Linked DNA regions of Homo sapiens: all the other regions are linked to region 1. Evidence: promoter capture Hi-C in 16 types of primary human blood cells and fetal thymus (Javierre and others, 2016). All regions are on one chromosome and are shown on one strand. The core of a region is centred on a gene start or on the middle of the fragment in contact, and the rest is flanking DNA. Distances in the headings are between cores, read along the strand shown. Region 1 holds the start of TBC1D10B (TBC1 domain family member 10B). Region 2 holds the start of CDIPT (CDP-diacylglycerol--inositol 3-phosphatidyltransferase). Region 3 holds the start of SEZ6L2 (seizure related 6 homolog like 2). Region 4 overlaps SRCAP (Snf2 related CREBBP activator protein). Region 5 has its middle 15 kb from the start of ALDOA. Region 6 has its middle 14 kb from the start of FBRS. Region 7 overlaps PPP4C (protein phosphatase 4 catalytic subunit).

The links. Contacts are between HindIII fragments. The CHiCAGO score rates a contact against its expected background, and 5 or more counts as called.
Region 2: a fragment that was not itself captured here is called in contact with the fragment with the promoter of TBC1D10B in region 1 in 1 of 17 cell types (M0 macrophages); the score reaches 5.1 in M0 macrophages.
Region 3: the fragment with the promoter of SEZ6L2 here is called in contact with the fragment with the promoter of TBC1D10B in region 1 in 1 of 17 cell types (M0 macrophages); the score reaches 5.1 in M0 macrophages.
Region 4: a contact is called between a fragment that was not itself captured here and the fragment with the promoter of TBC1D10B in region 1, in 2 of 17 cell types (monocytes and M0 macrophages). The highest score is 5.4, in monocytes.
Region 5: a contact is called between a fragment that was not itself captured here and the fragment with the promoter of TBC1D10B in region 1, in 15 of 17 cell types (naive CD8 T cells, fetal thymus, endothelial precursors and 12 more). The highest score is 14.2, in naive CD8 T cells.
Region 6: a fragment that was not itself captured here is called in contact with the fragment with the promoter of TBC1D10B in region 1 in 1 of 17 cell types (megakaryocytes); the score reaches 5.0 in megakaryocytes.
Region 7: a fragment that was not itself captured here is called in contact with the fragment with the promoter of TBC1D10B in region 1 in 16 of 17 cell types (naive CD8 T cells, naive CD4 T cells, fetal thymus and 13 more); the score reaches 18.9 in naive CD8 T cells.

The regions. Positions count from the first base shown.
Region 1 is chr16:30,369,073-30,372,209 of GRCh38, reverse strand. TBC1D10B (TBC1 domain family member 10B) reads left to right here and starts at 1,716. Exons shown (of 9, transcript NM_015527.4): 1 at 1,716-2,982. The coding sequence starts at 2,027. It also overlaps a transcript of MYL11 not described here. RefSeq lists silencers at 1,831-2,120, 2,211-2,290. The HindIII fragment of the contact is 4,560 bases long and covers 102-3,137 here.
Region 2 is chr16:29,860,733-29,863,869 of GRCh38, reverse strand. CDIPT (CDP-diacylglycerol--inositol 3-phosphatidyltransferase) reads left to right here and starts at 644. Exons shown (of 6, transcript NM_006319.5): 1 at 644-1,055; 2 at 1,150-1,284; 3 at 2,611-2,764. The coding sequence starts at 1,013. It also overlaps the pseudogene CDIPTOSP. RefSeq lists enhancers at 1-523, 2,679-3,137 and silencers at 572-631, 642-951. The HindIII fragment of the contact is 2,733 bases long and covers 196-2,928 here.
Region 3 is chr16:29,897,883-29,901,019 of GRCh38, reverse strand. It overlaps SEZ6L2 (seizure related 6 homolog like 2), which reads left to right and starts at 1,470. Exons shown (of 18, transcript NM_001243332.2): 1 at 1,470-2,079; 2 at 3,036-3,137. The coding sequence starts at 2,001. ASPHD1 (aspartate beta-hydroxylase domain containing 1) reads right to left here and starts at 532. Exons shown (of 3, transcript NM_181718.4): 1 at 1-532. The coding sequence starts at 48. RefSeq lists a silencer at 485-914 and an enhancer at 1,278-1,572. The HindIII fragment of the contact is 3,079 bases long and covers 1-2,290 here.
Region 4 is chr16:30,725,825-30,728,961 of GRCh38, reverse strand. The region is part of intron 25 of SRCAP (Snf2 related CREBBP activator protein); the gene reads right to left. Among named protein-coding and RNA genes, the nearest start is that of TMEM265, 13 kb to the left of the region's middle. The HindIII fragment of the contact is 4,495 bases long and covers 1-3,137 here.
Region 5 is chr16:30,048,958-30,052,094 of GRCh38, reverse strand. It overlaps a transcript of TLCD3B not described here. Among named protein-coding and RNA genes, the nearest start is that of ALDOA, 15 kb to the left of the region's middle. The HindIII fragment of the contact is 2,534 bases long and covers 157-2,690 here.
Region 6 is chr16:30,671,336-30,674,472 of GRCh38, reverse strand. No RefSeq gene overlaps it. Among named protein-coding and RNA genes, the nearest start is that of FBRS, 14 kb to the right of the region's middle. The HindIII fragment of the contact is 4,963 bases long and covers 1-3,137 here.
Region 7 is chr16:30,077,077-30,080,213 of GRCh38, reverse strand. All of the region lies in intron 2 of PPP4C (protein phosphatase 4 catalytic subunit), which reads right to left. Among named protein-coding and RNA genes, the nearest start is that of PPP4C, 2.7 kb to the right of the region's middle. The HindIII fragment of the contact is 1,018 bases long and covers 1,044-2,061 here.

The DNA.
Region 1 (3,137 bases), core at 467-2,966:
TTACCACGGGGGTCCAGGCCAGGGAGGAGCCCACTTATTACTGGGTTCTGGGAGAGGAGGAGGACTCCAAAAAGGGGAATGGGAGGAGAGCTCAGGAAGCTTGGGTCAAACGGGAGATGGGAAAGGTGAGGAGAAGGAGATCAGACACTGAGTGGGAATTGACAGGACATGGGGCTGAGTTGGGAGTGAGGGACCTTAGAGGACTCAGAAACCAAGGAGGAGCTGAGAAGTCGGGAGCTAGGTCTCACTGGAATTCCAGGATGGTGGATGCTATATGGAAATCAGAATATGGGGGTCAGAGAAAGAAGAGGGCGTTTAGAAGTTGGAAGGTTGGAGCTCATAACGTCAGGTCTTTATGCTTGTGATCTAAGGACAACCTGGAGCGCTCATGAGATTGAGGTCGGGATTCTCAGTGGAACATGAGGAGCACAGAGGGATGTGGCAGTGAGGGGAGAGGGGTTGACGGGACTGGGGCCTTGGATCCCCAAAAGAATAGTAACACACATATGGGGAGTTCATGGTATTAGGGATTCATGGATTTGGGGTTTGAGATCCCCACTAGAAGAAATGGAGGGGGTACTCAGAGGGATAAGGTCTGAGGAACTGGAGCCTGGGTTCTGGGGAGGAGCTCAGATAGATGGGAACTGAGGAGAGGGACTTGGAGGTTGGGATTCCCGCAGGAAATGGGTGAAGCAGAGATATGGGTTGCTTATAGGATCTGGGGGCTCTGGCTATTGCCACCTGGGCCTGGAGTGTTGGGGTTAGTTGGGGGCCGAGATCGGAGAATTATAGAGTAAAGGATGAGAGTACTGGGTCAGGGCACTGGATCTGTGGTGGGGCTCAGGGTCCCACAGACCACCAGAGTGTGGGGCTCAGGAGCTGAACGAAGAATAGGGGACCGGAAAGGACTCGAGAGGGGGCAGCGCGGCACTCATTGGTTGAGGGCTGCACTAATGCCCCCGCCCCTTCTCCGTGCTGTCCCCAGCTGTCACCCTCCCATAAGGCTTGTCTCCGGTTGTCACCGACTATCCCTGGGCTGGCACCGCCTGCTGGCAGCATCTTTGCCCTTTGGATGCTCCCATTGGCTGAGACAGCTATCTATTTTCCTGTCCTGTGGCCAAAGTGGGAGAACACGATCATTGGCTGACGGGGCGAATTAATCTCTAGCTTGCCCCGCCTCCTCCCAGCTGTCATTCCTTACTGACCATTTTGGGAGACCTAAAGAATTCTTCAGCTCTTCCTATTGACTGCGGATGCTGTCTGTCACCGCCTAAATAGACATCACTGCCTGTCAATTTGACCTCCACCTGCTCCCCTTTTCATTGGCTCCCTTTTTACCATTCCTATTGGTTAAGAAGCCTCCAGGCCCCACCTCTTACTCGCACAGCCCTGCCTCCTCCTCCGCCCTTCCGCGGTCATTCACCCTTCAGTCATATTCATTGGCCAGGAGGTTCAGACCCCTGCGTTTCTATTGGTTATTTCTTTCGTCCCATCGCCCCCTGCCTTTCCTCGTCCTCTGATTGGTCTTACAGCCCTAGCTTTCTCCGTTTCCTCTTTCCAGATGACCCACCCCTTTTTCGCCTCCAGCCCCGCCCACGATTCCAACGATTGGCAGAAGCCCAGTTCTCTCTCTCCCACTATTCGTCCAAATCCTCTGACTAGGCGGGAGAAAAAAGGAGCGCGATGAGCCAGTCCGCGCGCAGGCGTGGAACGCCGAGACGCTGGCGCGGAGCCGGCTCTGCGGCGTGTGCGCAGGCGCGAGGTCGGCGGCTCGCCCCCAAGCAGGAGGGAGGGGGCGGTGGCGAGAGCGCGCGAGGGGGTGAGAGGGCTCGAGAGAGACCCCGGCGCGCGGCGCCCCCCGACCCCTGCCCCGCCTCTGCGCGCCCAGCGGCCGCTCCGCCCCCGGCGCGCGCCGAGCCGCGCCCTTCGCCCTCTCCCCTTTCTCGGCTGGCCTCGCCGGGAGGCCCGAGGGGCGGCGCCTTCTGCGGCCTCCCCGGCGGGGGGATGTGAGGGGCGGCCCGCGGCCATGGAGACGGGCACGGCGCCCCTGGTGGCCCCGCCGCGCCGTCATGGCGCCCCCGCGGCCCCCTCGCCGCCGCCCCGGGGTTCCCGGGCCGGGCCCGTCGTGGTGGTGGCTCCGGGACCTCCAGTGACTACGGCCACTTCGGCCCCCGTCACCCTGGTGGCCCCCGGGGAGGCGCGGCCCGCCTGGGTCCCGGGGTCGGCCGAGACCTCTGCTCCGGCCCCGGCCCCAGCCCCGGCCCCAGCCCCGGCTGTCACGGGCAGCACGGTGGTGGTGCTGACCCTGGAGGCCTCGCCCGAAGCCCCAAAGCCGCAGCTCCCCTCCGGCCCGGAATCCCCAGAGCCCGCGGCAGTGGCTGGAGTTGAGACATCGAGGGCTCTGGCCGCAGGGGCAGACTCGCCGAAGACAGAGGAGGCTCGACCCTCACCCGCCCCAGGACCAGGGACCCCCACCGGGACCCCTACCAGGACCCCTTCCAGAACGGCTCCTGGTGCCCTGACCGCCAAACCCCCGCTTGCCCCCAAGCCGGGAACCACAGTGGCCTCAGGAGTGACTGCACGGAGTGCATCAGGACAAGTGACAGGTGGGCATGGAGCTGCCGCAGCAACATCAGCATCAGCAGGACAGGCTCCTGAGGACCCCTCAGGCCCTGGCACAGGCCCCTCTGGGACTTGTGAGGCTCCGGTAGCTGTCGTGACCGTGACCCCAGCTCCGGAGCCTGCTGAAAACTCTCAAGACCTGGGCTCCACGTCCAGCCTGGGACCTGGCATCTCTGGGCCTCGAGGGCAGGCCCCGGACACGCTGAGTTACTTGGACTCCGTGAGCCTCATGTCTGGGACCTTGGAGTCCTTGGCGGATGATGTGAGCTCCATGGGCTCAGATTCAGAGATAAACGGGCTGGCCCTGCGCAAGACGGACAAGTATGGCTTCCTTGGGGGCAGCCAGTACTCGGGCAGCCTGTGAGTACCAGTGGGCACCCAGCGGGACCGCCTCGGGGAAGCAAAGGTTGGGGGAGGGCGAAACGAAAACGATACACTTTGCCCAGACTCTGGCAGCCCAGCCTCCTCTGAGGATCCACGGGGTGATCAGCGCGAGCTGCCGTGTCTTGAGCATC
Region 2 (3,137 bases), core at 313-2,812, 510 kb after region 1:
GTCGCTACCGGACGCTATAAAACCCTTGGAGTCTGCAGAGGTTCCGCAGCCTCGTTGCTAGGAGATCAGGGGTTCTAGAACTAAAGACAGAGGAATTTCCTAGCGCGCCCCGTTTGCTCCTCCAGCCTCCCCTCCGTACCCCTCCAGGTGCCTCCTTGAGGGCAGTGACCCCAAGCGCCAGACGCTTGAGAAGCTTGGGAGGATGACGTAGGGTGGAGCCTGCGACCTAATCCTCCCATCACAAGGGGCACGCGAAAAGCAACCCATCTGCAGGGCGCTCTGGAGCCTCTCTAGCCGCCTAGAGCCTGCGAGAGCAAAGGCGGCTGGAGACTTAGGGGGCGGGGAGTAAAGTGAGGACTGCACCAAATCTCCTGGCCTCTTGGGGACGCAAAGACTCAGGAGGAGGAATTTTATCGCCTTATCTTTGCCTCCAGGAAGTCATACCCTCCACAAAAGGAAAGCAGAGATTTTTATTCGGTCTTCTCTTTTACCCTTTCCTTTTCCGTTTCTAACTTTGCTTGACGTTAATGGTTCCTTCCTCCCTCTCCTCCTCTGCGCTTTGGTACGAGCCAAGGGAGAGGGGCGGAGGGAGGAAAAGGGAAAGGAAGCCGACAGGCCTTAAAGGGGCCGCAACTATTTTTTTAAGCCACTTTTTCCTCTCTCCAATTTTGCAACGACGGGCGCGGAGGAGGAGGTTCCCGGAAGCCACGCGCAGCTGGAGCAGCGGCGACCGCAGCTGGAGGCCCGGAGCGCCTGCGGGGCTGGCAGAGGCGAGGGAGGTTGCGGGTAGGAAGGGCGGACTGCGCGCGCCCCCTGCGTCCCGCGCACCTCGGGGCCGGTCCATGCTCCCGACGGCTGCGGGCTTCAGCATCTGGGGCCAGGTTGGGGCGGCGGGGTCCAGGGCGCAGGTGGTGCGGCCGATGCGCCGGGCCGGAGGCTGAGGCCGCGCTGCGGGGCTGGGACAGCACTGGCATCTCCAGAGCAGGCCCGGGGCAGCAAGGGAGGCGCCGCGATGCCAGACGAAAATATCTTCCTGTTCGTGCCCAACCTCATCGGTGAGTGCTGCCCACGGCCCCGGGCCGAACGAGAGGGCGAGGGGCCTTGGCGGGCTCCCTGATCCTGCCCTGTCTCCCCGCGTCCCGTTCCAAGGTTATGCCCGGATTGTCTTCGCCATCATTTCTTTCTACTTCATGCCCTGCTGCCCCCTCACGGCCTCCTCCTTCTACCTGCTCAGCGGCCTGCTGGACGCTTTCGATGGACACGCTGCTCGCGCTCTTAATCAAGGTGACAGACACCCCTCTCAGCCAGCCTTGGGGTTCAACAATCCCCTCCTCCCTTCCCCTGCCTCCTCGGGACCTCAGAGTCAGAGGGCTGTCATTCCCATCTCTGGAAAAAGCAGAACAGGATGGCCTGGGGCTTTTTGTTTTGTGTTTTGTTTTTTTGTTTTTGAGACAGGGTCTCGCTCTGTCACTTAGGCTGGAGTGCAGTGGCGCGATCATGGCTCACTGCAGCCCCCATCTTCTGGGCTCAAGTAATCCTCCCACCTCAGCCTCCTGACTAGCTGGGACTACAGGAGCGTGCCACCACACCCGGCTAATTTTTAAATTTTTGTAGAGACTGGGTCTTGCAGTGTCGCCCAGATTGGTCCCCAGCTCCTAGCCTCAAGCGATCCTCCTGCCTTGCTCCCAAAGTGCCGCGCCCAGCAAGAATGGACTGATTTTGTAGCAAAAGGAATTTAAGCTAGCTCTTGAGAACTCACTGCTTGTGAGAGGTGTGGATTAGCAAGACATGACATGGCGGTGGCGCTGCTGGAGGTCTCTCTGAATACAAGTCCATTCAGGCCAGGGGCGGTGGCTCACGCCTGTAATCCCAGCACTTTGGGAGGCCGAGGTGGGTGGATCACGAGTTCAGGAGTTCGAGACCAGCCTGGCCAACATGGTGAAACCCTGTCTCTACTAAAAATACAAAAATTAGCGGGCTTGGTGACGCGTGCCTGTAATCCCAGCTACTCGGGAGGCTAAGGCAGGAGAATTGCTTGAACCCGGGAGGCGGAGGTTGCAGTGAGCCAAGATTGCGCCATTGCACTCCAGCCTGGGCGACAGAGCAAGACTCTGTCTCGGAAAAAAAAAAACAAAAAACAAAAAACAGTGTATTCAACAGGTGTTTACTGGAGGCCTACTGTGTGCCCTGCATAAGCAGTTGGGGTTCCAGAAGGCATGCTTAGAGGGAGGATGGAGAGGGAAGGGTGATGGCTTCTGGAGGGTTGACTAATTTTTTAATCTGTTCTCCAGACCCAACTGTAAGGCTTCCCCTGAGGCATCAAGTCTCTATCTAGCCCTGGAGTCTTGGTTCTGGGGTTGATGAGTTGCAGACATAGCTTTCCTCTCCTCCTACCCTGTTCCCTCCACTCTCATGCCTTTCTCAGTTCATGCCATGGTGACCTTTGCCCACTGACCTCACACACAGCCTGTTTTCTAGCCTGCGTTCCTCCCCAGGCAGGCGGACACTTCCAGTCTTCGTTTACACCCTGCGTCAGAGTGATAAACCAAATATGGGCACCTGTCCTGCATCCACTGTGCCATAACAGCCCTTGCCCACCTAATCTTCCAGGAACCCGGTTTGGGGCCATGCTGGACATGCTGACGGACCGCTGCTCCACCATGTGCCTGTTGGTCAACCTGGCCCTGCTGTACCCTGGAGCCACGCTGTTCTTCCAAATCAGCATGAGTTTGGATGTGGCCAGTCACTGGCTGCACCTCCACAGGTCTGCTGCGATTCTGGGGGCCTGGGCCACTTGGAGACATTACAGTGGGGTGGGCTGAGCCTAGACGGAAGGGTGTCTGGGATGGCACTAGGCATCCTGGAAGGGCTCCTTTTTAGCTCTGCTTTGTAGAAAGACCCCAGGCAAACCTGCCTCTCTTTAAAGCTTCAGTCATGTTTACAGTTGCATTAAGCAATTCTTAGGACTCTTCTGGCTGGGTATTCTAGGATTCCATATAGGTGACAGCTTATAGGAAGGGGCATGGGAGCTTTCAAATGTGGCATTTGAATCCTGACTCTGCCCCCAAATAGGTAACTGTGGCTTTCGGCAGGATACTGGTCCTTAGCCGTGCCCAGTTTTCCATCTGTACAATAGG
Region 3 (3,137 bases), core at 221-2,720, 470 kb after region 1:
CTTCCGCGGTCCTCTCTCCACGCTGAAGCTCCCTCTCCCCTCCTTCATGCACCTCCAACCCTCCTCTCTCCTTTCTCTCCCCTTTCTCTCTCCTTCTACCTCTTCTTCCTCCTCTCCCTCTGTCGCCTCCTCACCCTCTTCTTTCTCCTTCCAGCAGCCTCCTCTCTCTCGCTCTGCTTCTCTCTCCCACCTCAATCTCCCCCTTTCCTCCCCACCCCCGCTTTTCGCTCGCTCTCTCTCCCCGCTTCCTCCTAGCTCCCCTGGGCAGCGGTTCCTACCCTGCCTGGACCTGCAGTCCCGGGAACCCGCAGCCTGTCTTCCTCCGCGGCAGCTTCTTTCTCTCCGGCCTCACTGCTCTCTCCTTGCCCTCGCTCCTCACTAGCCCCGACCCTGCGGTCCTGCCTGGCTCTCGCTCCCTCTCTCCTACTCGCTCCTTCCTGGGCTCCCACTCACCCTGACGTCACTCCTTCCCGGAGCCCTCTCAGCTCAGCCACCCCCGAACCCTCCCAGTGGCACAGCAAATCAGCCGGGTGCCGGGGGAGGGGGGAGAGTTGTCGCTGGAGGTGCCTCCCCACCCCCCCCGCCCGGAAAGGGCGCCACGTGGGGCGCAGGGGCCACGGTGCCAGCCTCCAGCCGTCCCGCAATGCGAAAGAAGGGGCGGGTCGTATCGGGCGGGGCCTGAGGGGCGGGGCCTGAGGGGCGGGGCGAGCGCGGACTGACGGCTGGGCAGGCGCCCGGGACTGCGGGCAAGGATGCTGAGGCCAGTCCGTCGGGCGGCTGGTCCGTCGGTCGGTCGGCCTGTGACTCCCGCTGGCCCTAGGCAGCCCGGGAGCCCGCGAGCCTGGCAAACACCGAAAGCGGCCTCAGCCAATCGCGGGCGGCGTCGGGCCGGGCCCGCCCCGGCGGGGCGAGGGGAGCTGTCCGCGCGCCGCTGGTGCTGAAAAGGGCGCTCCGGAGGGAAAATCAGAGCCGAGGCCGCCTGTTAGCTGGCCGGGGTCAGGGTTTATGGAAGAGGAGGGGTCTGTCTCTCCTCCCCAAACCCCGGCCCGTCACCCACGAGACTTGTCACAATCGTGGAAGCTCTCTATTCCCCTGGAGGAGGGAGAGCCCATTCCACCCGAGCTACTGTAAAAGGGGAAGGGAAGCCCCTTGGGAGGTCTGAATGTGAACAGGGGGCATAATTGGGGGCCTAGCAGGCGCGAACCAAGCTATGCAGCCCCTCGGCACCCTGGGAAGAGGAGATTCAGATTCCAGATGTGCTGGAATGGCAGGCGGAGGGGGCTAATTACTGCTGGGACCAGAGAGTTTCCTTTGCCTCCCCTAGGGGCCGCGGGAGTGAGGATTACGGCCCTGGCTCGTATGATCCCTCCCTCCTCCATCTGCACTTCCTCCTCCTCCCTCCCCGTCAAATAAATCCCAGGCCCCTCCCTCCGCCCGTCCCCAGGATCTGACGTGGGCTCGATACCTTTCTCAGCTTCTCCCTCCCGCAGCTCCAGTGCCCGAGCTTCGGCTCTCCCAGTTCCCCAACCCACCCCTTCCCCTCCCCGACAAGCCCCGCTAGAGCCCAGTGGAGACCCCCTCGATCCTCGACCCCACCCTAAACCCCCAGAAGCTGTCTTTCTCCTCCCCAGTCCCCTAGCTTGGGGTCCAGACAGCCCAGTGGACCCAGGCGCCTGAGCAGGAGGGTAACCCAGGCCACCCGGCCCCTTCGGCCCTCTCGGCCCCACCCCCTGCAGCCGGAGCCGCGCCCCCTCCACCACAGAGCCGCGAGAAGAGGACAGAGGAGACTGAGCAAAGGGGGGTGGGCTCCAGGCGACCCCTAGCCCAATTCTGCCCCTCCATCCCAAGGGGCAGAGAAATTGTCTTTCTTTGCTGACTCCTACGAGGAAAAAAAAAAAAAAAAAAAAAACAATTAAAGGGAAAGATAAACGGAGACGGAGGAAAGGTGGCAGCCAGATTACTTAGAGAGGCACAGAGGAGAGAGATCGGGGTGAGTCGCCATGGGGACTCCCAGGGCCCAGCACCCGCCGCCTCCCCAGCTGCTGTTCCTAATTCTGCTGAGCTGTCCCTGGATCCAGGGTAAGGACATGAGACTGTGGGGGTGGGCCCCAGGAAGGCGTCCAGCGGGGTCCTCCACCCTCCTTTCTCTTAATATCCTGGGTCTTCCGAGCACATGGGGGAGGGGAGAGGCACAGCTGATGGGGAAGGGGCAAGCCAGAGCTTTCAGGCTTGAACCCGAAGCCCCTTAACCCTCAATATTGAGAAGGCAGAGAAATGAATGAGAGAAGCTTTTAGCAGTGTCTCAGGGGCTAGATCCAAGAAGGAGGGCTGGGAAAGTTGGGGGGATGTCTGCGGAGGCGGCAGAAGCATGGAGGGACCTGGGTGGGAGATGGAGGTGCTGAGAGAGATGCCAGGCGCTGTACACACAACTGTTCTTGGATGAATGGACAAAGACAGATGAGCAGAGGCAGGGCTCAAAGACCAGATTTTCAGTCCCCCACTCTGACCCCCAGCCAGACTCCAGGGAAGGAGGCAGAGACTGCAGAGGACCAGAGAGAGAGAGGGTGGGGGGGAGAGAGAGAGAGAGAGAGAGAGAAAAGACAGCCACACTGCAGAGACAGAAACCCAGAGAGAAAGCCAGGCACTGCGGAAGCAAGGGCTGGGAGGTGCGGCCAGATCCTCTGCAGAGCCCCAGGGTTGGGGGGAGATCACCACTGAGGTGAAAGGGAAGGCAGCACCGGCGACCCCTCTGCCTTGCTGGCGCTGTCCAGGGTCCATAAGAGCTAAGGTGTTCAATGAAGGCCCACACAGCCCAGGGAGAAGGGAGAGGGGAGGGGAGAGAAGAGGTGTGGGAGTGGGAGTATGAGGGCAGCTGGGAGCCCCTCCTCCGATCTTGGCCCTCAGTCGAGCCTGGGACCATCTGAGCCCCTGCAGGCCCAGCTGATGGAGGAGGGAGGAAGAGTTCTAGAAAATATCTCTCTGGAGAAGGAAGGGGTGTGGGGAAGTGGAGAAGCTCACACAACTTCACCTCCTAGGTCTGCCCCTGAAGGAGGAGGAGATATTGCCAGAGCCTGGAAGTGAGACCCCCACGGTGGCCTCTGAGGCCCTGGCTGAACTGCTTCATGGGGCCCTGCTGA
Region 4 (3,137 bases), core at 281-2,780, 360 kb before region 1:
GGGTGAGAGAAAAAGAGGAAGTAATCAGCACCCTCAGAGTCCACATCAAAACCTGACTGTTCTTCCCAGATGGAAATAAATATATAGAAACCATGGGATCCAAAAATACACTATGCTTTTTGTAGTTTTCCAAGTTATCAATGAGAACTATTCTTTCTCAGAAGTTATGTTAAATAACTTTCTTTTTTATGTTAAATAACTATTCTTTCTCAGAAGTTATGTTAAGTAACTTCTCTCCTAGAGAAAACTGATCTTTCCTTGTATGCTACCAAAGCAGAATGACTGAATATTCAAAATTAAGATCTACAATTCCAACAAGTTTATAGAATGGACGATTTGTGGGTATTTTCCTACGTAACACTCAACTCCAGGACTATAGCCTTCTTCAAATCACTGACCAGGATACAGAGGCGCCAATCAAATCCAGACCAGGTTTTTGCCAAGGGCCAGACTGGAATGGGGTGGAATGGGAACAGCTAACCGGACATCCGAGTCTCATCACTCTGAGACAGAAAATGGGCAACCCGGCAGTGAGGACACCTGGATGACTTTGACCCAATCCTTTCCCATCTTTGTGCTTCCAGTTTCACAGTCTGAAAAACTTCTTTGTATCACTTATTATGCTTGTAGTTACACATCTGTATGATTATTTAACTAATATCTATCCACTACACGGTAGGCCCCATACAACATGAACTGTGCCTTGCTCACTATAATCACTCAGTAACTAGCACAATTAAGCTCTCAATACATTTATCTGTTAACAAAATGAACAAATGAGGGAGACTAGACCCCAAGAGATAGTTGTGAAAAGAGGAGTGTTCCAAATCTCCTTCCTGACTGCTACCAAGTTTCACCTCTTGGCTTGAAGTGCTCTATGTGAGGGAAAAAAGGTGTCCTAGCAGACGGAAAAACCAATAAACTCAAAGAGCTAGTTCCTTTTGAGGCTAGCTCCCAATAGTAGCAAAAAGAGAAAATCTGGCCAGGAGCAGTGGCTCAAGCCTATAATCCCAGCACTTTGGGAGGCCTAGGTGGATGGTTTGAGCCTCCTATTCAAGACCAGTTTGGGCAACATGGCAAAACCGCATCTCTACAAAAAATACAAACAAGGGCCAGGCGCGGTGGCTCACACCTGTAATCCCAGCACTTTGGGAGGCCGAGGCGGGCAGATCATGAGCTCAAGATATCAAGACCATCCTGGCCAACATGATGAAACCCTATCTCTACTAAAATTACAAAAAAGTTAGCTGGGCGTGGTGGTGCAAGCCTGTAGTCCCAGCTACTTGGGAGGCTGAGCAGGAGAATCGCTTGAACCTGGGAGGCGGAGGTTGCAGTGAGCTGAGATCGCACCACTGCACTGCAGCCTGGTGACAGAGTGAGTCTCCATCTCAAAAAAAGAAACAAACAAGTAGCCTGGCATGGTGGCACAAGCCTACAGTCCCAGCTACTTGGAGGGCTGAGATGGGAGGTTCACTTAAGCCCAGGAGGCTGCAATGAGCGGAGACTGTGCCACTGCACTCTAGCCTGATTGACAAAGTGAGACACTGTCTCAAAAAAAAGACTATTTGTAAACCATACGTCTGAAAAAGGATCTGTAATCAGAATATATAAAGAACTCTTACAACTCAATAATAAAAAGACAACCCATTTTAAAAGGGCAGAGGATCTGAACAGATAGTTCTTCAAAGATACACAAATGGCCAGCATGGTATTTCAACCACATGAAATAAAGCTCAACATTAGCCAACAGGGAAATTCAAATCAAAATCACAATGAACTACTACTTCACACCCAGCAGGATGGCTATAATCAAAGTGATGATGTGCCAGGCATGGTGGCTCACACCTGTAATCCTAGCACTTTGGGAGGCTGAGGCGGGCAGATCACTTGAGGTGTGGAATTCGAAACCAGCGTGGCAAACATGGTAAACCCCATCTCTACTAAAAATACAAAAAAATCTGGCCAGGTGCAGTGGCTCATGTCTATAATCCCAGCACTTTGGGAGGCCAAGGCAGGCGGATCACCTGAGGTCAGGAGTTCGAGACCAGCCCGGCCAACATGGTGAAACCCCATCTCTACTAAAAATAAAAAAATTAGCCAGGCGTGGTGACGCCATGCCTGTAGTCCCAGCCACTCGGGAAGATGACACAGGAAAATCGTTTGAGCCTGGGAAGTGGAGGTTGCAGTGAGCCGGGATGGTGCCACTTTACTCCAGCCTGGGCAACAGAGCAAGATTCTGTCTCAAAAATAAAATAAAATAATAAGAATACAAAAAAATTAGGTAGGCATGGTGCCACATGCCTGTAATCCCAGCTACGAGGGAGGTTGAGGTGGGGTCACTTAAACCCAGGAGACAGAGGTTGCAGTGAGCCAAGACCGTGCCAAAGCACTCCAGCCTGGGTAACAGAGCAAGACTCCTTCTCAAAAAAAAAAAAAAAAGTATTGGCTCAAATGTGGAGAAACTGGAATCCTCACAGACTGCTGGTGGTAATGTCAAATGCTGCAGCCACTTTGGAAAAGTCTGGCAGTTCCTTAAACAGTTAAAACCTAGTTACAATATAACCCAGCAATTCTTCTCCTCAGTATGTATCTAACAGAAACTGAGAACACCTGTCCATACAAAAACTTGTACATGAAATGTTCACAGCAGCATTGTTCATAACAACCATAAAGCAGAAGTAACACACGTTTCCATCAACTCAAGGATAAAATGTGGTATTCATACATTATTATTCAACATAAAAACAAATGAAGTACTGATATACGCTATAACACAATAAAATTCAAAGAACATTAATCTAAGTAGAAGATGCCAGTCACAATGGACCACACATTATACATTATGACTCCATAGGCAAAACTAGAGAAATAAAAAAGTAGGATGGTAGTCATTCAAGACTAGGAGGGACGGAGGGATTGGGGAATGCTGGCTAACAGGTGCAGCGTTTCTTTTTGGGGCCACGGAAAGGTTCTAAGTTGATTGTGTTGATGATTGTACAACCCTATAAATATATTAAAAACCTATTGTACAGTTTAGGGCCAGGCATGGTGGCTCACACCTATAATCCCAGCATTTTGGGAGGCCGAGATGGGAGGATCACTTGAGGCCAGGAATTCGAGACCAGCCTGGTCAAGAG
Region 5 (3,137 bases), core at 174-2,673, 320 kb after region 1:
GTGCCCAGCCTTTTTTTCTGAATTTTTAGAGATGTGGTCTTGCTATGTTGTTAAGGCTGGTCTTGAACTCCTGGGCTCAAGCAGTCCTCCAGCCTCAGCCTCCCAGGTAGCTGGGATTACAGGCATAAGCCACCTTCAGTAGGATCTGCTGAAGCTTCCTGAACCAGTGTGTAGGGTCTCACATTTCCACAGCTTTGCAGTTGCTGATCCCTCTGCCTGGAACACCCTCTGTCTTCCCCTCAAACCTCTTCCTCATCCCTCAAGCACGTCCTCAGTTTTGCCTCTGTGAGGTCTCCCTGCCAACCTCAGGCAGAGGTGGCTGCTTTGGACTGTGAATTCCCACAGCATCCTACAGATACTGTTGTTCTCGCACTTCTCACAAGATACTTGAATTCCTCACTTCCATGTCTGGCTCCACAATTAGACTGCAAGTGTCTGGGGCCTGGTCTGAGTCATCTCCGTATCCTGAGCTCTAGTACTTGGCCTAGCCCTGGGAGCCTTGGTGAATACTCACTGATTCTTTTTCTTTCTTTCTTTCTTTTTTCTTTTCTTTTCTTTTTTTTTTTTTTTTTTGAAACGGAGTTTTGCTCTTGTCGCCCAGGCTGGAGTGCAATGGTGTGATCTCAGCTCACTGCAACCTCCGCCCTGGATTCAAGCAATTCTCCTGCCTCAGCTTCCAGAGTAGCTGGAAGTGCCACCATGCCCAGCTAATTTTGTATTTTTAGTAGAGACGGGGTTTGTCCATGTTGGTCAGGCTGGTCTCGAACTCCCGACCTTAGGTGTTCTGCCCGCCTTGGCCTCCCAAAGTGCTGGGATTACAGGTGTGAGCCACTGCGCCTGGCCTGTTTTTTTCTTTTAATAAAGTAGACATGGGGTCTCACTATGTTGGCCAGGCTAGTCTCCAACTCCTGCCTCAAATGATCCTCCCACCTCGGCCTCCCAGGTTGCTGGTATTACAGGCCAGAGCCACTGCACTCAGCCAATACTCACTGATTCTATGAATGAATTGAAACCAAACACCATCCACGAATGAAGCATTGTTTTCCACACGTCCTAATTTCCTTGGCTTTCAAGGCACTCAGACCTCCCCGTTTCATTCCTAACCTTTTTAGATCACACACACACAGACACTTGCACACACCCACACATGCACGCTCACACAAGCACCCCTCTCTATGGAGGCCTCCGACTTCCTAAACGATGGCTGAATCCTGGCATTTTCCCCTAAAAACAATGCCACCATATACCTATTTTTGTCCATGTTCTCCACCCCAACATACCTCACCACAGCTGCTGCTCCTGGGGTTTCCTACACCATGAGGCAGCCACGGAAACTGCCAGGGGCTGTGTCCCTGGATCCAAATCTTCCCTCCCACTGTCAACCATACTGAGGTGGTCTCAGCCACCCTCTTGGCCACCCCTGGCCCTCTCAGAGGGCGTTTCAAGCCCAGAAAACAGAAGTCTAGCTGTTGCTAATGTCACCATTATTGATCCTAAAGAAGATTGTCTTCTTAGGCTGTCTTCCGGTTTTTGTTTTTGTTTTTGTTTTTTTTGAGACAGAGTCTCACTCGGTAGCCCAGGCTGGAGTGCAATGGCACAATCATGGCTCACCACAACAGCCTCGACCTCCTGGCTCAAGGGATCCTTCCACCTCAGTCTCCCAAGTAGCTGAGACTACAGGTGCATGCTACGACACCCAGCTAATTTTTAAAATTTTTTGTATAGACGGGGTCTCACTGTATTGCTCAGGCTGTTTTTGAACTCCTGGGCTCAGGCGATCCTCCTGCCTCAGCCTCTCGAATTGCTGGGATTACAAGCGTGAACCACTGTGCCCGGCCTTGGGCGGTCTTATTGTCTGATGGAATCCTGAGGACCAAGTTGAGGCCAGTTCTCACCTCAGCCCTACAAAAGGCCTCCAGGAACACATATTCTGCATATTCTGCCAACAGAGAGACTTCAGCCTTGGCAAGGCCCCTGGACACGTCCGTGGCCTGCAGTGCCCAGACTCGCTGGTGCTGGTGTTTTGTTCCTACCATGGGCTCATACATTATGCAGGAGCACGGGCAGTGCCCCAGGCTTGTGTGTTGCCAGGCAAGCCAAGACAAGGGATGATGTATGCACCCCACTTTGCCAAGGCCCCATTTCTTTTCTTTCTCTTTTTTTTTTTTTTTGAGATGGAGTCTTGCTCTGTTGCCCACGCTAGAGTGCAGTGGTGCGATCTCAGCGCACTGCAACCTCTGCCTCCCAAGTTGAGTGATTCTCCTATCTCAGCCTCCCAAATAGCTGGGATTACAGACGCATGCCACCATGCCCGGCTAATTTTTGTATTTTTAGTAGAGACAGGGTTTCACCATGTTGGCCAGGCTAGTCTTAAACTCCTGACCTTGTGATTTGTCCACGTCGGCCTCCCAAAGTGCTGGGTTACAGATGTGAGCTACTGCGCCTGGCTGTGCCGAGGCCCCACTTCTATCCACATCACAACATTTGCTGGGGGCAGAGAAAAACTGACTTCACAATAGCCAGCTAACCGCAAAGTCTCCTCTCCCGAAGTTGGAAGCTGGAGATGTCAGATGTATCATATGTAGTTCCGCACTTCCCCTAGGAAAGGGCAGACAGGATTGTATACTTCCAATAATCGTGGGGTGGGTGGGAGATCAGAGATGCAGAGTTCCCAGAAGATGAAAGAAGCTTCAGCAGGCTTGGACGTGGGAAGGGACCTGGCAGTTCTGATTCTGATCTAATACTTTCAGCTGCCTCCAATGGACATCCAACGATATCATCTCCCAGAGATTAAGAAGAGGTTCACCAGCCTCCTTAGTATAAAATGAAAGGCTTGTGTTTAGGTAATTACCCTGGGGGAATAAAGAAGCAGTGCTGAGCTAGAGCTGGTGTCAACAGAGGCCTCTCCACAGACTTTATCTTACTTAATCCTTACAGGAGGCACGAGTGGCAGAAACAATTACTTCCATCTTATAGGTTGGAAATAATAATGGCCCAGTTGGAAACAAAACGAAAAAAACCTTTAGGCCAGTGCAGTGGCTCACGCCTGTAATCCCAGCACTTTGGGAGGCCAAGGCAGGCGGACCACCTGAGGTCAGGAGTTTGAGATCAGCTTGGCTAGCATGGCAAAACCCCAT
Region 6 (3,137 bases), core at 394-2,893, 300 kb before region 1:
GAAAGAATCAAAGGCAGCTCAGAAACTGCATCAAGTGAGGGAAGAGGGAGGTTTCTGACTTGAGTGCTGATGACACAGAGATGGAAACCTTGGGGGAAGTGGGGCATCAGATCTCGAAGATGACTTAATTTGGGATATCTGAGGTGCTTGGGGAGAGATCTAGGAGAGGTGGGATAGGCATGTCTAGAAAATATTTAACTCTACTGGGCACGGTGGCTCACGCCTGTAATCCCGGCATTTTGGGAGGCTGAGGCGGGCGGATCACCTGAGGTCAGGAGTTCGAGACGAGGCTGGCCAACATTTAGTGTGACTCCTGTCTCTACTAAAAATACAAAAAATTAGCCAGGCATGGTGTTGCATGCCTGTAATCCCAGCTACTTGCGAGGCTGAGACAGGAGAATCGCTTGAATCTGGGAGGCGCAGGTTGCAGTGACCTGAGATTGTGCCACTGCACTCCAGCCTGGACAACAGAGCAAGACTCTGTCTAAAAAAAAAAAAAAGAGAGAGAGAAAGAAAGAAAATATTTCACTGAGAGTCACTCTCAAATGCCTATAGGGGCCAGAGAGGTAGCCTGAATAGTGACTGTGGTCTACTCCAAGACAACAAGTGGAGGGGACAGTCGCAATCTGGTGAGATTATGCCCCATTTCAAAGGAAAGCCATGGGGGTAAGCAGGTCTAGTGACCACAGATTTTTGGATTTTTCAAGAGAAGCTGAAAACAAGAACTTCCATGTGAAATCTTGTCTGCAAGCCAACGTTCACCTTCTGGTCACTTGTTTCTGACTTCTGTTGGAGCAATCTAGGCTTGAGCCTTCCCTAGACATCCTGGATATGTGTGGTGGTGGCAGGGAATGTTGGCTGCATCTTTCCTAAGGCAACAGGTACATTTATGGGCCAGGCACAGTGGCTCACGCCTGTAATTCCAGCGCTTTCAGAAGTTGAGGCAGGAGGATTGCTTGGGACCAGGAGTTTGAGACCAGCTTGGACAACAAGACAAGAACCCTGTCTCTACAAAAATTTAAAGCTAGCCAAATGTGGTGGCACAGGCTTGTAGTTCCAGCTACTCGAGAGGCTGAGGCAGGAGGATCACTTGGGAATAGGAGTTCGAGGCTGAAGTGATCTGTGATTGCACCACTGTACTCCAGCCTGGGCAACAGACCGGCTGTTGTTTTGCTCAAAAGCTGCCTCAAAAGCAAAACAAGTCTGGGTGTGGTGGCTCACACCTGTAATCCCTGGACTTTGGGAGGCCAAGGGGGTAGATAGCTTGAGTCCAGGAGTTTGAGACCAGCCTGGGCAACATGGAAAAATTCTGTTTCTACAAAAAATACAAAAACTAGCTGGGTGTGGTGGTGCATGCCTATAGTCCCAGCTACTCGGGAGGCTGAGGCGGGAGGACTGCTTGAGCCCAGGAGGTGGAGGTTGCAGTGAGCTGAAATCATACTACTACACTCTAACCTGGGTGATAGAGTGAGACCCTGTCTCAAAAAAGAAAAAAAGCAGGCATACTTAGAATAAGGTCACTCAGTCAATTCTATAGGAGCTCAGGTAGGCAACAGCCCTGACAGCCCAGTTTAGTAGTGACTTGCTTTTTTTTTTTTTTTTTAGACAGAGTCTCGCCCCGTCACCCAGGCTGGAAAATCTCAGCTCACTGCAACCTCCGCCTCCCGGATTCAAGTGATTCTCCCGCCTCAGCCTCCTGAGTAGCTGGGACTACAGGAGTCAGCCACCATGCCCAGCTTTTTGTATTCTGTAGTAGAGACAGGGTTTCACCATGTTGACCAGGCTGATCTTGAACTCCTGACCTCAGGGATGTACCCATCTTGGCTTCCCAAAGTTCTGGGATCACAGGCGTGAACCACCACGCCTGGCCTTCGTGTTTGAGTCACATTTGGTTAATTCTCCCATTATCTCAAACTTTTCCATTATTGTATCTATTATAGTGATCTGTGATCTTTGATGTTACTATTGTAATTGCTTTGGGGTGCCACAAACAGTGCCCATGTAAGAGGGCGAACTCAATCAATAAATGTGTGTTAACTGTTCTCTCTCTGTGCTTGGGCCTCCCTCTTCCCAGAGACAATATTCAAACTAGGCCAATTAATAACACCCTACAATGGCCTCTAAGTGTTCAAGTGAAAGGAAGAGGCAATCAAGGAGGCAAAGTTCCTTGTTGTCAAGAAACCGCCGTCATCCCAGCCTTCACCGACCACCACCTCAGTCAGTCAGCAGCCATCACCAATGAGGCAAGAACTTCCACCAGCAAAAAGATTACGACTTGCAAAAGCTCAGATGACTGTTAGCATTTAAAAAATTAAGGGATGTACCGTTTTCATAGACATAACACTATTGCTCACTTAAGACTGCAGTATTGTGGAACAGTAATTTTTTTTTTTTTTGGAAATGGAGTCTCGCTCTGTCGCCCAGGCTGGAGTGCAGTGGCGTTACCTCAGCTCACCGCAACCTCAACCTCCTGGGTTCAAGCAATTCTCCTGCTTCAGCCTCCTGAGTAGCTGGGACTACAGGCGCACGCTATCATGCTTGGCTAATTTTTGTATTTTTAGTGGAGACAGGGTTTCACCATGTTGGCCAGGATGGTCTACAATCTCCTGACCTCGTGATCCATCTGCCTCAACCTCCCAAAGTGCTGGGATTACAGGCGTGAGCCACCATGCCCAGCCAGAACCATAACATTTATATGCACCAGGAAATGAAAAAATTCATGTGCCTCGCTTTGTTGCAGTGACCTGTAGTAGCTAGAAAAATAACTGGAGGAATTTCCCCGAAAATTAACAGTGGTTGCCAGGTGCGGTGGCTCACGCCTGTAATCCCAGCACTTTGTGAGGCCAAGGCAGGCAGATCACCTGAGGTTGGGAGTTAGAGACCAGCCCGACCAACATAGAGAAACCCCATCTCTATTAAAAAAAAAAAAAAAAAAAAAAACAAAATTAGCCAGGCGTGGTGGCGCATGCCTGTAATCCCAGCTACTCGGGAGGCTGAGGCAGGAGAATCGCTTGAACCCGGGAGACAGAGGTTGCGGTGAGCCGAGATCGTGCCATTGCACTCCAGCTTGGGCAACAAGAGCGAAACTCCGTCTCAAAAAAACAAAACAAAACAAAACAAAGCAAAAAACTGGTTAT
Region 7 (3,137 bases), core at 303-2,802, 290 kb after region 1:
ACCACCACGCCCAGCTAATTTTTGTATTTTTAGTAGAGTCGAGATTTCACTATGTTGCCCAGGCTGGTCTCGAACTCCTGACCTCAAGTGATCTACCCACCTTTGCCTCCCAAAGTGCTGGGATTACAGATGTGAGCCACTGCACCCAGCCTATAGATACCCAATTTAAGCAACACTGTATTTCCAAATTTTGCCTGGTAATAGCAGCAGTGAACATTCGAGCTCATACTGTGTGCCACAAATGTTATTAAGAGCTTGGCAGGCAGGTACTATGATGATTCCCGGTACACAGATGAAGAAATTGAAGCAGGGAAGGAGGCTGGCTTGGTGCCAGTGACACAGGTGGGATATGAACCAGGGAAGCCTGGCTCTGGGGTCTGACTCTTTATCAAGATATTCTGATGTGGGAGGCCCAACTCGCCTGGCCCCCCTCTTTCTGCCAATCTCTTCCCTTAGAATGAGTTTCCTGAGCTCAGTGGACAGGAGGATTCACTTATGCCCCTTGCTCTGTATGGCAGAGGCAGCACGAAGGAGGTCTGCCCTGGCTTTCTGGGAACAGAAGGCAGCACTGGCGGTGGTCCAAGAGGCCACATCAGTACCCGGACTCTCCCACCTGCACTGCTTCTTGTGCTGAACATCCTTCCCCATCAACTGCTCATAGTGACCTTTCCAACAGACTGGGGAGGTTCTCTTCAGCCTCACGTAACAGTAAAGAAACCGAAGCTAGGCCGGGCGCGGTGGCTCATGCCTGTAATCCCAGCACTTTGGGAAGCCAAGGCAGGCAGATCATGAGGTCAAGAGATTGAGACCATCCTGGCCAACATGGTGAAACCCCGTCTCTAGTAAATATACAAAAATTAGCTGGGCATGGTGGCGCGTGCCTGTAATCCCAGCTACTTGGGAGGCTGAGGTAGGAGAATCACTTGAACCTAGGAGGTGGAGGTTGCAGTGAGCCAAGATCAGGCCACTGGCACTCCAGCCTGGGCAACAACAGCAAAACTCTGTCTCAAAAAAAAAAAAAAAGAAAAAAAGAAACCAAAGCTTACAGAAAAGCGGGAGGGTCAAGGTCACCAAGCTGGAGAGTGGCTAAATTGGAACCCAGAAGCCCAATTTCCTGAGAATTTATGCCAGCCCCTTCCACAGACCCTGAGTGAAAACCTGAAGCCCAGGGAGGTCACATGCAGGGCCCGTGCTCTCTGCAAAGCCCCCCTCAGTGCCAGCGCAACCCCAGTGTGGCCTGGGAATCAGGCCCAGATTCCAGCCCCAGTTCTGCCACTTGCAGCACTTCCCCAGCCCTATCAGGACCTGCCTGCAGTAACGGCTACCAGCGCAGCAGGCCCTGTGCCCGGATACCCGGACTCTCAACTGCATGTCATTATCACTTCAAAAAATCAGAAAGTGACTTGACGAGGGTCATATTGCTTCTAGGTGACAAGGCAAAGATTCATACTGAAGACCACCTGATTCAAAAGCTCAGCTCTCCTACTGTGCTAATATTTCTAGTAGCAGCAATTTCAGCTCAGACACTGCGGACCTCTGTGCTTCCACTGGTTTCATCTGCATGTCTGTGCCCTCTAGGCAAGCTGGTGCTCTTGACACCACCAGCCTCAGCCTGGGTCTCTGATGGGTCCCCAGGAGGCCATAACCAGGTATCAGAGATGGCCCTGCTTCAGACTGAGCCTGGGACAACAGCGGCCAACTCAGGCCTTGGCCTAGTACCTCCTAGTTCCACTCAGTTTCAACTGGGCAGGACCCTCCACCCCTCAGCCTTCCATGGCTTCCTGCTGCCTCACACCCCACATCAAAATCTAAATGCCTCTGCCTGGCTCTCAGTGACCACGGAGCACAGTCAAAGACCTGGATGCAAAACTAACTTCCCCTCCGACTAGCTGCGTGATGTTGGGCAAGACATTATCTACTCAAAGGCTCAGTTTCCTCTGCTATGAAATGGGGCTAAGTACTCAGCCCACCCTGCGTATTCCTTAGGCTGTTGCAAGGAGCCATGGAGACTGAATATACGACTTCCTGCTATTCTGCAAACTCCAGCATGCTATCTAAGCTTTGTCTACCATCACCACCACACTGATCCAGGGCCCGTGAGGGAGACAATACTTCGAGGTTAAAGAATAGTGCCAGGCAACAACAGGTTTAAGTTCCTAAAAATGCCAATCAGGACTGAGGGAAAGGGGACAACTAAAAACACCATGGGGCTGGTCTGGTCAGCTGGCAAAAGAGAAAAGCCACAGACAGGTGGCGAAAAAGAGGCCGACCCTGCTCATCATCCCCTCACAGGCCCTGTCTGGCTGCAGGTAGTCTATGTGAGGCAGGGCCAGGCAAAGAGCCTGAGGGCCACAGATTCAGGACCCAGCTCTGCCACGTCCTCAGTGGGTGACCTCAGTTAAGTCACCAGACCTCTACGAGTCATGGCTTCCTATTCGATAAAATGCAGCAAATGATTCCAACCTCATAGGATTGCTGGGGGGAAGAGATGGATAGAAGTTTTTTGCCAGTACCGGGCCAGGCCAAATAGTGGCCCTGTAAAGGCCAATGTTTACTGTTCAATAAACGTAGGGTAATTCTGTGGGCTCTTCTGCCACAATTCTCCAGCCTGGTAGAAGCCACAATCACACAGTTCCCCAGAGGAGGCAGGTAATTAAACCCCTGACTGTTCCCCACGCATCTCAGGGCCTCCACTGTTACATTCGTCCTGCTTGGAATGCCCTTCCCTCACTGGCCCTGCCTCCATCAGCTAGCCAAATTATCTTCATCCTTCAAGGCCTACCTCCACTCAAAAGCCCTCCCTGATGGCTTTAGCCCATCTCATTATTGCCCTCTTCCAAAAGAAATAGAATACCTGGTGATTATCAAGCACGTATGCTGTACCAAAACACTGTGCTAACCTCATCTCCAGCACCAACTCACTGAATCTTCACAATCATCTTATTAAGTACTATTAATTCTGCTTTACAAATAAAGACACTTAAGATTACTAACACAGCTAGAAAGCGGCAGAGTTCAGATTCAAACCTAGAGCCATCTCACACTGCAAAACCTAGAGCCTTAACCACTACATCATCCTACTTCCCACAGAACTCTGAACTGGCCTCCCTATCGTGCTTAATTCTACCCTGGCTTAC